Regions from separate parts of the Homo sapiens genome. Here regions 1, 2, 3 and 4 are each linked to region 5. The links are contacts of gene promoters, found by promoter capture Hi-C in blood cells and fetal thymus (Javierre and others, 2016). All regions are on one chromosome and are shown on one strand. The core of a region is centred on a gene start or on the middle of the fragment in contact, and the rest is flanking DNA. Distances in the headings are between cores, read along the strand shown. Region 1 holds the start of NAPEPLD (N-acyl phosphatidylethanolamine phospholipase D). Region 2 holds the start of DNAJC2 (DnaJ heat shock protein family (Hsp40) member C2). Region 3 holds the start of ORC5 (origin recognition complex subunit 5). Region 4 holds the start of FBXL13 (F-box and leucine rich repeat protein 13). Region 5 holds the start of SDHAF3 (succinate dehydrogenase complex assembly factor 3).

Region 1 (2,705 bases), core at 112-2,611, 6.0 Mb after region 5:
TTTCTACAATATAATTTGGAATTCTGAGTGAAAATAAGGGTATGAGAAATACACTAAGTATTTTTATCTCTTGGAGACTTACCATAATTCTTGTAGCAGGAAAGCCTGCAGAATGTTAACAAAACAAAATCTCTGAAAATCCTGACTATATTTTCAGTTGACTTGAAACAAATTTAACCCCTCAATCTCTCCTTAAATTATTATTTTAAATAAGTACTTTTACCCTAAATTTCTTCTTTAACAGACCCAGTATTTTCTTGCAACAAAAATCACACTATTGTGGGATATAGGTAATCTTCTTTTTAAAGATTACATAACTTCTTTCTAAACGATGTCCATGTCTGCGGCTAATTCATAACCAATGTAACTGAAAATAGAAATGGAAATGTTAGAGATTTCCATTTTTTAACAAACATGGGAATTATTTCTCAATTTGAAGAACTGCATCTCAGGAATGACTTCCTGGACAAATTAATCAGAATTATCAAGTAGCAAACATTTCATGCTAAGCCAAAGCCAACCAGGTGAGTCAGTCATATTATAACATGTATATATAACAACGTACAGTAAAGGCAAAGACAAGAACTAAATGACTTTTTAAAAGGCTGTTAAACTTTACTCACTCCCTTAATATTTTCCAGGTTTAACTGACGTATAATGAATGCATGTGATCCCGGAACCCATGGAAGAGTATCTACCATATCGAGCTCTAGCTTGAAAAAAAAAAAAAAGGAAAAAACAAACAAACAAAACAACAACAACAAAAACCTATCTGAATACGTGTTCTGAAAAGCCCACAATAATACCCAATTTATAAGAAGCAAACAACCACAGAACAGAAAACTCAAGAAAGCACAGCCTTCCACCACCCCTCCCCAGCTAGCCCCATTTTTTTTTTTGCTCTTCATTTCCATTCCATAGTTAAATAAGTACACTTATTCCAAAATAAAAGGGGAGAAACCTGTTGGAATGGATTTTTAGAAGATAAACACTATAGATGAAGCAACAATAAGTTGCTCGGAGGAAGTTGTCGACCCATTCATTTACATACAACCAAAAGAAGATAAACCCACATGTATTCCTATCAGTGAAGATGCAACCTGGTAATTTGCAGGGAAGATAGGATCTCAAATCCCAGACAGCTACTCTCCCAAAGAGAAAAAAAATAATGCTGTGGCTCTTCACCGAGGCAGCTTCAGAGATGCAGGCTCCGCAACTCGCGAGGTGCGAAAATTCAAATGAAGCCCTGTCGCTCACAAGTGCGGCATCTCCGAGATGAGGGAGGGCTCGGGGACGGGAAACCCACTCTCAGCCCGCTCCACTTCGCCGAAGAATTCCAAACCACCCCAGGCTCAGCAGTGTGGATTGCTCCGCCCAGAGACCGTGGAGGAGGCAGCAGAGAGGTCACAGAGCACAGCAGGCGGGAGAAAACCGCCTCCCGCGAGGTCCAACAGAAACCACGGAGCTCCGGACACTCGGGATCCCGGGCCGCGGGCGCGCGGCCAGAGCGGCGGGGTGCGAGCGCGGGGGTGCGGACTCACCTCGCGCTTGGGGTGGCCGGGAGCGCGCGCCGCCTCAGTTCCGCGGCTTCCGGCCACAGAGTCCCCGCGCAAAGCGCCGCCGCGTAGCGGGAGGGGCGACCGCGGCAGGCGCTCGGGTTCTTCCTAACCCGAGCCCGCCGCGCTGGCTCCGCCGAGGACGCCAGCAGCTGCAGGCAGCGCTTCAGCTCTCGCCGCCTCGCCATCGTTGGGGCGAGTCGTCGCCGGGTCACTCCCTTATTATGACCTTCGAATCTGACAGCAGGGCCAGCGGTGGCCTCCTTCAGGCTGCCTCTCCAGCCCTTACCAAGATGGCCGCCCCTGTGGGCCGGGGCGCCGAAGCCATCTTGGTAAAGGAAGCGCCTGGGAGCACGCGGCCTGCCCCGGCCCGCCTCGCGACTCAAACACTCTGCAGGGACCCTCCTAAGATCAAATTGGTTCCCCCCGCTGTCCTAAGCCAGAGGCTTACTTTCAGATCGCATGAACGCATTCCTGGACACCAGCCACAGTTGCTAAAACTAAATGGGATCCTGCAGACCCATTGACGGACTGTCATAGCCAACTCAATCACAGTCGAGAAGCATTTGAATACTTACAGCCTATGGCGCTAGGATCCTGGTAGCGAAGAAACTAAACTCTAATTTGAAATGTTGTACAGTACGTATTGAATATTAATGGGAGCACGGCATTGTTCACTGTGTGATCGTTTACTTTTAAAATGATGTCACAGCCCCCTGGTACACACGGTTCTCATCTAAATTTGCATCTTTTTTAACGCTAGGATAACTATGAAAGAGCATACGATTGTGATTCTGAGTTTCTTACTGGATTTGCTTTTTAAACTGCAGAATGAAATTAGTTGTTTCAAGAAGTAAAGTACAGGCATGTCGAAGTAAAATTCAACAATGGGTTGTTGGGCAAAAAGATTATAAAAGTCCTGGGGTGTGCCAGGGTCAAAAAAAAAAAAAAAAGCTTGTCCCTGGGGTTATCTTGGCAAAAAAGAAACCACCACCACAGGTTCTAAATGCAGATAAGACTGGCAGAAAAATGCAGACCAAACTATTCTGCATTTTGAAAGTGAATGTGCCTGTGTGACATTGGAGGAATGTAAAGAACTGTATGTCAAGTGTGGACTTTATCTCCTCAGGCTAGCTTAGAGTGGCTGCT
Region 2 (2,700 bases), core at 164-2,663, 6.2 Mb after region 5:
AGAATTCACTAACAAGAATTTGTCCTGAAAGCAATTTTCCAAGCAGCAAATGGGAATTTACTAATGCAGCTAAGCTGTAGTGGAACAAGCTCTCAATCTGAAACCAGACACTCTGGGTTTTAGACTAGGTCTGACAGTGGCTATGTGACCTGAAATGAATCAGGATGTCTTCACCTGTAAAATGGGAACAATACCTATTTATCTCATTCAGTTCCTAGGAAGCTTGAATGAGACCACAGAAACTCTCTGAAATTACAAACTTGTAGTAAAGGTATCATCTATTCCTGGGAAGTGGGGGTAAATCACTGTACATGTGTATACTAGCAATTCAAAAAAGGAAAATCCCTGAACAACTTATTTTAAGATTTCCTCCACCTTACACAGGAGAGGATTAAAACACTGTCAAAAAGGTACTACCTGTGTAGTATGGGTGTGTGGCTTTTAAGAACACTGCCTTTTAAGCCTTTTGCTCTAGTTGTAAGAGGCACACGGAGACACATAAATGCAACACGTGCCATGGGTTATGTTCAAAATCACATTCAACAAGCGCCTATGTGACTGGCTATGGGAATTACTGTAGATCACTGGACCTGAAGACTCTTAAGTTTACAATACTCATGACTGTCCTGGGCCATAAAACTAAAACCTACAGCAGCAGGACAAGTTTCACTTGTAATAACTGCCTTTCAAAGTCTACGCGGATCTTTTCAGCAGCACAGTCTTTGAACACCGAGTATGAGGAGCGGTGTCTGAGTTGTGACATTTAAAAAACAAGGCCGGAGCAAACGTAGAGAGGGAGAAAGTTGTTTAAGAGAGCGCCAGTAGCAAAGCTTTGTACGACCCCAGGCACGTGGGGTGCTCGCTGCGCGTAGTCTTTCCACCGTAGGCAAGGAGATGCTTATGAGAACCTTTCTGGGGTGCTGGGGGGTTCCGTCCCGAAATGCTCAGCCCAATCCATGAGTCAGCAGCGGCGAGAGGAGGAAGCAACGGTAGGAGCAAAAGGAAGGCACCCCTCACCCTCCTTCCTTCTAATCTAGGGTAGGATTACTTTAAAACACGGAGCAAAAAGGCACTCGTCACGGCCCCATACGGCCCCGGGGCTAGTCGCCAGGGTCAAGGGTAGAGAGAGCCCAGGGTTGCCGAGGCGGAGGACTGAGGCAGGGGCAGCTGAGGTGAGAAGGAACCGAGGTTGGGTGGGCACTTACCAGAGGTCAGAGCGTGGGTGATGGCGGTGCCCCGGCCGTCCGCGGCGCTTGGCAGAAGCAGCATGATGGCGCCGGGTCTAGCCCGGTGGGCGCAGCGGCTCACGTCCCGGGCGGAGGGCGCTTAGGGTCCCCTCCAGCTCTACCTCTCACTCCGAGCCTCGCGCCTTGGCTCTAAGACGCCCAGGAACCGGCGCATGGAGACGACCAGTAAGCACTTCCGGGATGGATCTTTCGTGGTGTGGAGGCCAGTCTCACACCCTCCCACCCCCGCCAACGTGTGCGGTAACCTAGTTCTATACTGACTGAGATCCGGCTGGAGACCAAGTCGCACGAGAGAATGGTTCCTAGGCGCATCAGTTTTCCTGTAAAAAGGATTATATTCCACGTCCCAGTGCAATACATAGAACATAACCTTTAAAAGCAGTTCTTTTTATATTATCTTTAAGTTCTTACTGCTTTATGTATTAATCTGAACCTAATCAGTGATTTTCCCAGGAGCGCTATACTTTTAAGTAAAAAATGAAAATACCTGTATGAACCAGTATCGACGACTAGTATATACATTTGCGGAGAATTACGTACGTGTATTTGTGATACATTTGTGTTTAACTTGATGATGATAATAGCAGCTAATATTTGTCGTGCTATTACTAATTTACCTGCATTATATCTTTTAATACTCGCTTGGAGAAGAAACCTCTCTCTAGTGTGTTAGATTGTATTCCAAGGCCAGCAATATTTTTACCTTGTTCTAATGAAGTTTTTATTCAAGATATTCCCAATTATAGGACTCTGGGACTTAATTTTTTAATGTATAATAAAATCAATTGTATTCCTACTATATGCTTCCTTCTAAGACTGCAGTCAAAAGCAAAAACTAGCAAAAACAAACAGTGGGTAAAGGCTCACCCCCAACAGCAGTATCTGAAACAGGTTCAATAAAATAAACTTGATATGCCACTCTTTAGCAAGGACCACCAGAAATTAGTAAATTAGAAAATAACTTACTAATTTCATTATATTTTCACAATTAAAGTTTTTAAATATATTATATATATATATATGTATATTTTTTTTTGTAGAGACAGGGTCTCACTATGTTGCCCAAGGTGGTCTTGAACTCCTGGCCTCAAGGGATCCTCCTGCCTCAGTCTCCCAAAACTCTGGGATTAGAGGCGTGAGTCACTGTGCCAGGCCAATTAAATACATTTAATTGGTCTGTATATCTGCTGCATGATAAAATTGTCACTTCAAAACTGACTTTTCAAAAATTGAACTAAGGGAGGCTGAGGTGGGAAGATCGTTGAGGCCGGGAGGTGGAGGTTGCAGTGAGCTGAGATCACACCATTGCGCTCCAGCCTGGGTAACAGTGAGACCCCGTCTTTAAAAAAAAAAAAATTGAACTAATCTTCTGCCCCAAAACCTCTTCCTGATCCCTACTAATGCAACCACTGTTAAAACATGCTCCAAGGTGCAAAGTAACCTGACTCCACTT
Region 3 (2,700 bases), core at 108-2,607, 7.1 Mb after region 5:
CACAGGCCACCTCAAATTGCCATGCAATATTTCTAGTTGGATGAAAGTACAGTCACGTGTACATTCAAAGATGGACCACATATACAACAGTGATCTCATAAGATTATAATACCCTATTTTCACTGTACCTTTTCTATGTTTAGACACTTTTAGATGCAGACTTATCACTGTGTTACAACTGCCTACAGTATTCAGTATAGTAGCACCGCTGTAGAGGTTTATAGCCTAGGAGGAACAGGCTACACCATACAGCCTAGGTGTATAGCAGGCTACACCATCTAGGTTTGTGTAAATACACTTTCTGATATTCACAGGGATTAAATTGCCTAACGATGCATTTCTCAGGACGTATCCCCCTCACTAAGTGGCAGCAACGCATGACTGTACTTAAAAAAGCAAACCAGAAGATGGGGGTATGAGTATGACCCTGAATTCTCATTCACTCTCTTCGCAGGTAAGATCCAAGTTTGATTAATTCCAATTCTGATTGAGTCTGAATCAAAAAGCACATCAAAGACCACCAGAAAATAGTCAAAAATAGGTTAAATTTTGAATTGGTGAACGCTACCCTCTGCCTATTGAAAGGACTCCCTACGTATCTATGTTCATCCAGACAAGACAAACTCCTCTCTAGGGCATCCTGTGAACTATCAGTTAAGGAGAAAAGTTTACCCTAGACCTCTTCTGGACTGTTACAATTCTGGAAAAGCCAGTAAATTTTTAAACCTGAAGCACTGCTTTGGCCCTTAGTGGCCTTGAAAGCAACCACCTCTCTACACTTGACTCACTCCAACTACCGCACAGAAACGTGTGAACTTACATTTGAATAAATAACACCCTGCAAACACATCTGTTACATAAATGTCATTGGGTTGGGGTAAGATAACAAGCAACTTCTAGGAGCTAATGTGGGCAAACTTCTGAAAAGTGTGGCGTGTTTCAAATACGTCTTAGGCAACGTCCTATAGTGCAGGCCGGTCGCTCTCAGACTGTCTCCTCTTCAATATTCGGAAGAGACTGTGGGTGAAGCTGCAGTACAGAACCACAACACCCCTATTTAACGTAAAAACGGCCTTTTGGCCCTCAATCCAAACACGAAAAAACAAATATTGGAACAGGTCGCAAGACTACCGAAACGTCTGCCTCCAGGATCTGGAAGACAGTTTAACTACAATACCTCTCCAAACAAGGACTGCAAGATGGACACTTGAGACTCGCGACAAAGCACCACGTTTTCCAAGTGGGGCATTCTGGCAGGCACCACCGCAGAGGCCAGTGCAGCCAGCCCACAGGACCCTTGCACAAGACGGAGCCTCTCCCGAGTCTGGCGGCCCACGCTCCCGCCGGAAACCGGACCCGCAGCGTCGTGGGAGGAGCCTGCGCTGCCGGGCTGCGGCGTGACGGCAGCGCGTACGCCGAGCGTCGCCGCCGCTCTAGTCTCAGGGCCGGAACCATCCTCTTCTCGCTGGTCCTGTGCGCGCCGAGGTTTTGCCCATTCTTGGGCTTGGTGGGGATTTCGGGCTGACGCTTTTTCCACTCAAAGGCTAAGGAGACGACATGGAGATGGGCGAATAGGGAAGGGGTGGAAGGGGTTAAGGGGGTCCCGTGGGCCTCCAATGACCCCTGAACCCCGTGCCTTTAGTTTTACCGGCTGGAAGCCCCAAGTTTAGAAACCTTGAGTGCCTAAGAAGACGGACCCGGAGCTGGGGCCCTTAGAGGGACGTGGAAGGCGGACTTAGAAGACTAATATTGTCAAAAGATGTTTTTGTTGTCGTTTTTTTCCCTGACGACGTTGTGGGAAATTAGTGGCATTGAGTACAAAACAGGGTGTAATGGGGTTTAATGCACAGCTTGGAATTACTATTTTTTGTGCAAGCTTTAAACCAGATGTGGAAAGCCTCTCAGTCCTAATGGGATGAAGTCGTAGTGTGTGTTGGTGAGGTTGATAGTAAAAATAATGCTACTTTTAGCATTAGGCTTTCACGTGTATTTATTTGTGAGGCACCTACTAGCGACTAAACACTAGAAGATTCTGGAAATAAGATACAGAAGTAGGCAAGTGCATGGTGGAAAGAGAGCTTGGCGTCCTGAAACCCCTGGGTTGGGACCACTGACTGACTCAACTGCTGAATAGGGGGACTTTGGAATAGTTGAGCCTCAACTTCCTTATCTATAAAATAGGGATAATACTGGCTAGGTTATTGCTAGGAGTAGAAGATCCTGTACATACTACCTGTTATACATAAATTTAAATTGTGGACTTCAATCTGCCCATAGATTGTAGATCAGTCTTAGATTTGTGATGGTCAAAAGGATCTTTTGAGAGTTGTGGTATATAACGTATTAGCTAGTCAAAATAGTATTTTCACAGCAACAATTCAAAAGCATTTGCCCAGGTACTTTTTAATAGAGAATTCTAAAGGTTATAATGGGACCACCCATTAAATTTCAATGTCTCCAAGGGAAGCTGGCCTCTGATACTCTCCTAAGATGGTTATACGTCCGTAACATACTGTGCATATAAGGTATACATATATTATAATCATAACACGACATCTTTATAGCATTCAATAAAACTGACTAAACTGTCTAAAATGTTAGTCTCCCTCTCTATATACTTTATGAGGACAGGAAACACTGTCTTCACAGTTCAATTTCCAGCATACACAGTTAACGCCTGGCAGTTACATAATAAAGATA
Region 4 (2,733 bases), core at 119-2,618, 6.0 Mb after region 5:
AGCTAGGATGGAGCCACTACACCCTAGCCTGGGTGGCAGACCAACACCCCGTGTCTCAATAATAATGATGATAATAATAATATGTCTTGGAGGACATTTCTTCTTAGTAGGTACAGATATACTTTATTCTACATAATGCCTCATTCGCTTAGTCACTCTAGGTCATTTACTATTTTTACTATGAAACAAAGTTATAATGAATATCCTTGTACATCCTCCTGAACACATGTGCAAGTATTTCTCTAAAGTAGATCCCTAGAAGTAGAAATGCTTGGTTAAAGGGTACATGTATTTAACATCTTAATAAATATTTCTCAATTACCATCCAAAAAAGAGACGGGTGGGGGGTCTCTACCAAATTGCCCTCCCAACCGCCTAGGAGCGTTACTACCCTCAGGTAGGACCTCCTCTTTCTTTCCCTAGACATCTCTCTCCCTCATTCTCCACATAACGTATCTTTGCTCGAACCTCCTACTGCACCAACATCCCCATCCCCACTCAAACACGCACATTCTTGGTAAATATCTCACCAACTATTTGTAGAGAAAAAAAGAGGTCAACAAAGGCAAATGTTCTCAGCTTCCTACCCCCAAACCTACAAAACCTAATGTCTATCCCCTTCCTGTCTTCCTTCCCTACTCTTATAACGGCAGTAGGAGGGCAGTCCTTCCTGTTGTCTAAAGGCAATCCTGGTTGAGAGGGTCCTTACCTTCACAAAGGGCTGACTACACTGACCAAAGGTCTCAGCTTCCACTCTTCCCTCCGCTAACCTCCATCTATTTTCTGCCCTCACGGCTCCATGGAAACCTCAGGCTCACCTTGGGCAGAATCCAGCTCCTTATCTTAGGTGACTAGTGCCTACTCCCTACTTCTGACAACATTCTTCATAATGCCAGTCTGCTGATTTTCCTCCTCAGGCTCTCTGGCACTTCTTTCTCACTCCTCCACTCCTCAGGTACTTCTTGTCCAAACCTTAAAATCTGAGTTTGGGGTTTCCGATCTGGGCCTTGTGCTCATTCCCCCTGGGAGATGTCACCCATTCCCCACGTGCAGCCACCATCACCCTCTGTTTTCTCTCTAATCAGCGTCTTCAGCCCTGATCGCCTACAAGTCCGAATTTGACTTCACTTTCTCGCATTCTGCCCCGCCTTCCCTCCACTCCTCCCCAATCCCGAAACCTAGTCCCTCCTCCGGGAAGTCTTTCCTGACTCCTCCCCCTTCTAACTCCCCACCGACGGTCTGTGTCCGCTGCCACGCGTGTCCAGTACCTCGCAGACCTGAGGAATGTAGTTCTCCTTGAAGTAGTTCTTCAGCCTCGGGTTGGCATTGCGTAGCGAGGCCATGGCCCAAGGCCTGACGGAGAAGCTGCGATAGTACCCTCCCCGCGCTGGGACTAGGGGCCGGGCGCGTGCGGGCGTTGTCCCGGCAACCAGGGGGCGGGGCTGGGCGTGGCACCGCCCCGCGCTCCGCTGCCAGGGGCGGGAGGGAGGAATGGTTGCTTCACGCCCCGGGGGAAGAGACGGGAAGCTCGGCTCTGGGTTGCGGGCCCCGGCGTCTCCGCGTGGGGCGCACCGTCCGACCCCCCCCTCCCGGTGTGCAGCGCCCCGCACCGCCCCGCCTCGCCTGGGAGAAGCCGCCGGGACGCGCCGGGCTGGAGTGGGCGGTTATAGGCTTTGAGCTAGGCCGTTTCCGGGAGGCGGAGCTCAGACCCCATTTCCTTTCTCCACATCCAGGTCAGGTGGCGTTTGCTGTGGCGGCTAGGCCCGCGTGCGCTGGAGACCTCCGCGCTGGCCCCCGCGAGCCTCCTGCCCTGGCCCGGCGCTGCGGCTCTGCCGCGGCGGCAGCATGGGTGGCCCCCGGGGCGCGGGCTGGGTGGCGGCGGGCCTGCTGCTCGGCGCGGGCGCCTGCTACTGCATTTACAGGCTGACCCGGGGTCGGCGGCGGGGCGACCGCGAGCTCGGGATACGCTCTTCGAAGTCCGCAGGTGGGACCCCGGGGTTTCCGGCAGGTGGGCGGGGACTGGGCAGGGGGGCTCCCCAGGCCGGGGTGGTGGCTTGCGTGTGCTCGGGGTAAAATGAGGAGCCGAGCTAGAGGGAGAGGCAGTACTTGTGTGAGTGCAGGGTGCTGCGCCGCCCCCGCCGCCCCTTTGCTGACTATACTGGTATGAAAACTTGCCCTGGCTTTCCTGCCTGAGCTCCGCGTCACAGCGGAGGATTAGATTTCTTAAAAACCTGTTGATGGCCTCTCATTTTAAAGCTTGCTCCGGGCCTTTGTGTAACTAAAGGGATTCTCCCGATTGTGGAAGGGCTGTTGAGGGGCCCAGAGCCATAGGTCAATCTCTGCTTGCAGGTGCCCTGGAAGAAGGGACGTCAGAGGGTCAGTTGTGCGGGCGCTCGGCCCGGCCTCAGACGGGAGGTACCTGGGAGTCACAGTGGTCCAAGACCTCGCAGCCTGGTGTGTGTTTTGGAAATGGGAACAGTTGTCTGCGCGAGACACACCCTCCCAGCGGACAAATGCATGATTCGGTTTCTGTCCAAAAGTTGATCGGTACATTAAAACCCTCCAAAGGCATGTTTCACATCATGGAAGCTGTTAGGGAAATAATTTAAAATATCATATCTGCCATCCAAGAAACTCCTGTCCACAATTGTAGAAGAGAGCTAAACAGCTTCATTGTTGAATAAGCACAAACTAAATTGCCTCACACATCACGGGCAATTTGCTAATGGGATA
Region 5 (2,725 bases), core at 162-2,661:
CTCAGAGTAGGGAGGAAATTTTAGGCCAAATTTAATTTAAATTATGTTGGAGCATGACCAAAGTTGGTCATGACCAGAAGCTGAACACAGATATGGAAGCTAACACAATATCCAGTGGAGAGAGATTGTGGTAGAGTACATGGGGCGAAATGGTTGATTTCTGCATTTTTGTTGGTGACGCCATCAGGATTTGCTGAAGAACCAAACGTGTGACAGGAAAGGACAACACAAGGAGCTGCCAGCTTTGGAAACCAGTTCTACTCTCAGTATTACCTTCGCAAAAGATAGAGCTTTGTAAATTTCTAGATTCCTCGTTCTTATTATCCTAGACTATTTAACCAGAATCTCCAGGGTCGTGGTCCTGGAAACAATACGTTTAAAACTCTTCCCAAGGATCCTTCAGCAGCCAACTTGACTTTGGCTAAGGAGTCCGCCAGCTCTGGGCTCACTTGGGTTGTTTGCAAGGAAGAGCCCATGCCCAGAGTATAAATTGGGAGAACAGCGCTGTGCAAAGAGCGTGGGTTGGTGAGCTAGTGGATGGCGAGATTAATCTCACTCTGATCCCTAAAGCAGGGTGCAGTAATACTCTAAATGCCTCAAATGGGTTGGGAACCATGGAAGGAATCCCGGAGGAGCCCGATCTTAACGAAGCTTTTCTCAGGCCTTTGGTAGGAGGACAGAAACGAAGTTGAATGAAAAAGACAGTGGAGTGGGACTGAGAAATGACAACGGCCCACCACAGACCTCTCTCTTTCAAGGCCTGTGTCGTCAGGACGCAGGCCAGAAGAAGCCACGACGAGGCGCAGGCGCGACTCCACGAGGGCCACGCCCCTCCTAGAGAAGGACCGACCCGTTTTCCGCCCGCAGCGGAGCTTGGGTTTCCGGGAGGACCTGATTGTGCAAGGGACCAAACCGGATAGAGGTCGCGCGCCCTCTTTCGTCTGCCTTCCGGTTCACTAATACGCAAGTTCGCAGAAGTGCGGGAACGCGCCGTCCCTCTGCGCAGGCGCAGTCGGCGGTCGGCGTGGGGCGCTATGCCGGGGCGGCACGTTTCTCGAGTCCGGGCATTGTACAAGCGCGTCTTGCAGCTGCACCGTGTTCTGCCCCCGGACCTCAAATCCCTGGGCGACCAGTACGTGAAAGACGAATTTAGGAGACATAAGACCGTTGGTTCTGACGAGGCACAGCGTTTCTTGCAAGAATGGGAGGCAAGTGACGCTCCCTTCTCTTTGCCCAAGACCTTTGGGGTTCCTCGGTGTCCAGGTTTCTAGTTCCAGTCCCCCATGCGGGGTTAAACAGAGCAGCAACCTGTTCTGTTTGAAATAGCGTAATGCTGTTCAGGTAACACTTTCCAAAGTTTCTCCCACGGGTTTCTCACTAGAGCAGATCCTGTTACTTCAGCGTCCCCAATTCAGTTCAACTTTTGAGCTCCTGCAGATGCCAGGTGCTCAAAGGGTGAGGGTAGGAGGTCACAAAAATGAGCAAGTCGTCGTTAAGTGCTCAAAAACCTCAGGAGCTTTTTGTCCTTTTAAGTGCCTTTGCACCTAGTAAGCGCCCATTAATAAATTAATGGTTCTCTTATTAGTTTTCAAATTTAAAGGCTTATTTCCGTAATTTATTATTTAATCTCAGCGCTTTTGGTTGGGTTTAAATAATTTTCTCACTTGGCTGATACAGAAATCAGGTAACATGAAAAAGATTACAAAAGGTTGGAGATTACAAACTGTGAAGGAGAAAAATGCTGGTGGCAGTTAAGTCAGGCGAAAGTTGTTTCCTCCGGTCTCAAGTCATTGTTACTTCGCCCTGCACCATTGCGCTAAATATTAAACAGACACATGCATTAGCAATAAGTCGTTTGACTTTTTTTTTTTTTTTTTGAGTAAAGGAAAAAAGATATTCAGAGTATTTCGTGGGGCTCGGGGCCCTGCAGGATTGCCCCTAGTTTTCATTTGCAAATATAAATAAATGAATGGAATTAGAGATTGGAATGACAGCTCAGATATTTGAAAGCATGAGTTGGAGCTGATATGAAAATAGAGGTAAGCGGTTCTTCGGCCTAAATAGTTGAAGGGGAGATGACTGAAGTCGGCTTTGTAAAAAAAAATCAAAAGAATGGTTAGGGTGAACACAAACTTTGCACTGACTTCCAGAATTCTTTTTTGTATAATTATTGAAGCTTTTAAGAGCGACATTTAGAACAATCGGGAAATTTAGAACTTTCTTGAAAATCATGGTGTATTTGATGTAATTCGCTTGCCTGAAGCAGGGAAGTTGAAGCTTTTCAGACACAGAGCACTTTATTTTAATAAGGTAATTTGGTTTTGGAGCCTGAAGAACTGGATTCAGATTCAGTCTCTGACATTTTAAGTGTCAGATCACATAATTTTTCTAGTCTTATTTTCTCATCTATAAAATAATAAGTGTTTATGCATCTCAAAATTTACGTATGTAAATGTATTTACAAGCACTTGTGTATTGCTAATTGTTATGAAGCTATAAGATACTGTATTAAAGTATTTTACATCTTTTATGGTAGGTCATTTTGTGGCCGTACAGGAAGGAGAGTAGCTCTCTGTTGGGAGGAAATAAGGTTATTTTAAGAAGTCTTAAAATGTAAGCACATGGAAGCCTCTTTGGGAAAAAGTAGGAAAGAGTAGCAACTCAGAAAAAATTGATAATAGGTTGTAGGAGAGAGAGAGGGTATAAAAAAGAACTGCATAAATAA

What was found. The method cuts DNA at HindIII sites, captures the fragments that hold promoters and counts their contacts. A CHiCAGO score of 5 or more calls a contact.
Region 1: a contact is called between the fragment with the promoter of NAPEPLD here and a fragment that was not itself captured in region 5, in 4 of 17 cell types (non-activated CD4 T cells, activated CD4 T cells, naive CD8 T cells and 1 more). The highest score is 12.2, in non-activated CD4 T cells.
Region 2: the fragment with the promoter of DNAJC2 here is called in contact with a fragment that was not itself captured in region 5 in 1 of 17 cell types (naive CD8 T cells); the score reaches 7.0 in naive CD8 T cells.
Region 3: the fragment with the promoter of ORC5 here is called in contact with a fragment that was not itself captured in region 5 in 1 of 17 cell types (naive CD8 T cells); the score reaches 8.0 in naive CD8 T cells.
Region 4: the fragment with the promoter of FBXL13 here is called in contact with a fragment that was not itself captured in region 5 in 1 of 17 cell types (non-activated CD4 T cells); the score reaches 6.7 in non-activated CD4 T cells.

Annotation. Positions count from the first base shown.
Region 1 is chr7:103,147,738-103,150,442 of GRCh38, forward strand. NAPEPLD (N-acyl phosphatidylethanolamine phospholipase D) reads right to left here and starts at 1,362. Exons shown (of 5, transcript NM_001122838.3): 1 at 1,074-1,362. LOC105375434 reads left to right here. Exons shown (of 3, transcript XM_047421168.1): 2 at 1,281-2,705. The coding sequence ends at 2,083. The HindIII fragment of the contact is 3,849 bases long and covers 1-2,508 here.
Region 2 is chr7:103,343,354-103,346,053 of GRCh38, forward strand. DNAJC2 (DnaJ heat shock protein family (Hsp40) member C2) reads right to left here and starts at 1,414. Exons shown (of 17, transcript NM_014377.3): 1 at 1,206-1,414. The coding sequence starts at 1,269. It also overlaps a transcript of PMPCB not described here. RefSeq lists an enhancer at 1,357-1,596. The HindIII fragment of the contact is 5,590 bases long and covers 829-2,700 here.
Region 3 is chr7:104,206,656-104,209,355 of GRCh38, forward strand. It overlaps ORC5 (origin recognition complex subunit 5), which reads right to left and starts at 1,358. Exons shown (of 14, transcript NM_002553.4): 1 at 1,178-1,358. The coding sequence starts at 1,249. RefSeq lists enhancers at 1,017-1,206, 1,247-1,326, 1,377-1,536. The HindIII fragment of the contact is 7,936 bases long and covers 1-1,874 here.
Region 4 is chr7:103,073,428-103,076,160 of GRCh38, forward strand. FBXL13 (F-box and leucine rich repeat protein 13) reads right to left here and starts at 1,369. Exons shown (of 21, transcript NM_001394494.2): 1 at 1,269-1,369. The coding sequence starts at 1,343. It overlaps ARMC10 (armadillo repeat containing 10), which reads left to right and starts at 1,713. Exons shown (of 7, transcript NM_031905.5): 1 at 1,713-1,984; 2 at 2,350-2,454. The coding sequence starts at 1,846. RefSeq lists a silencer at 1,300-2,139 and an enhancer at 2,410-2,459. The HindIII fragment of the contact is 4,996 bases long and covers 1-2,254 here.
Region 5 is chr7:97,116,690-97,119,414 of GRCh38, forward strand. It overlaps SDHAF3 (succinate dehydrogenase complex assembly factor 3), which reads left to right and starts at 1,009. Exons shown (of 2, transcript NM_020186.3): 1 at 1,009-1,208. The coding sequence starts at 1,035. RefSeq lists enhancers at 667-746, 1,097-1,186. The HindIII fragment of the contact is 1,525 bases long and covers 650-2,174 here.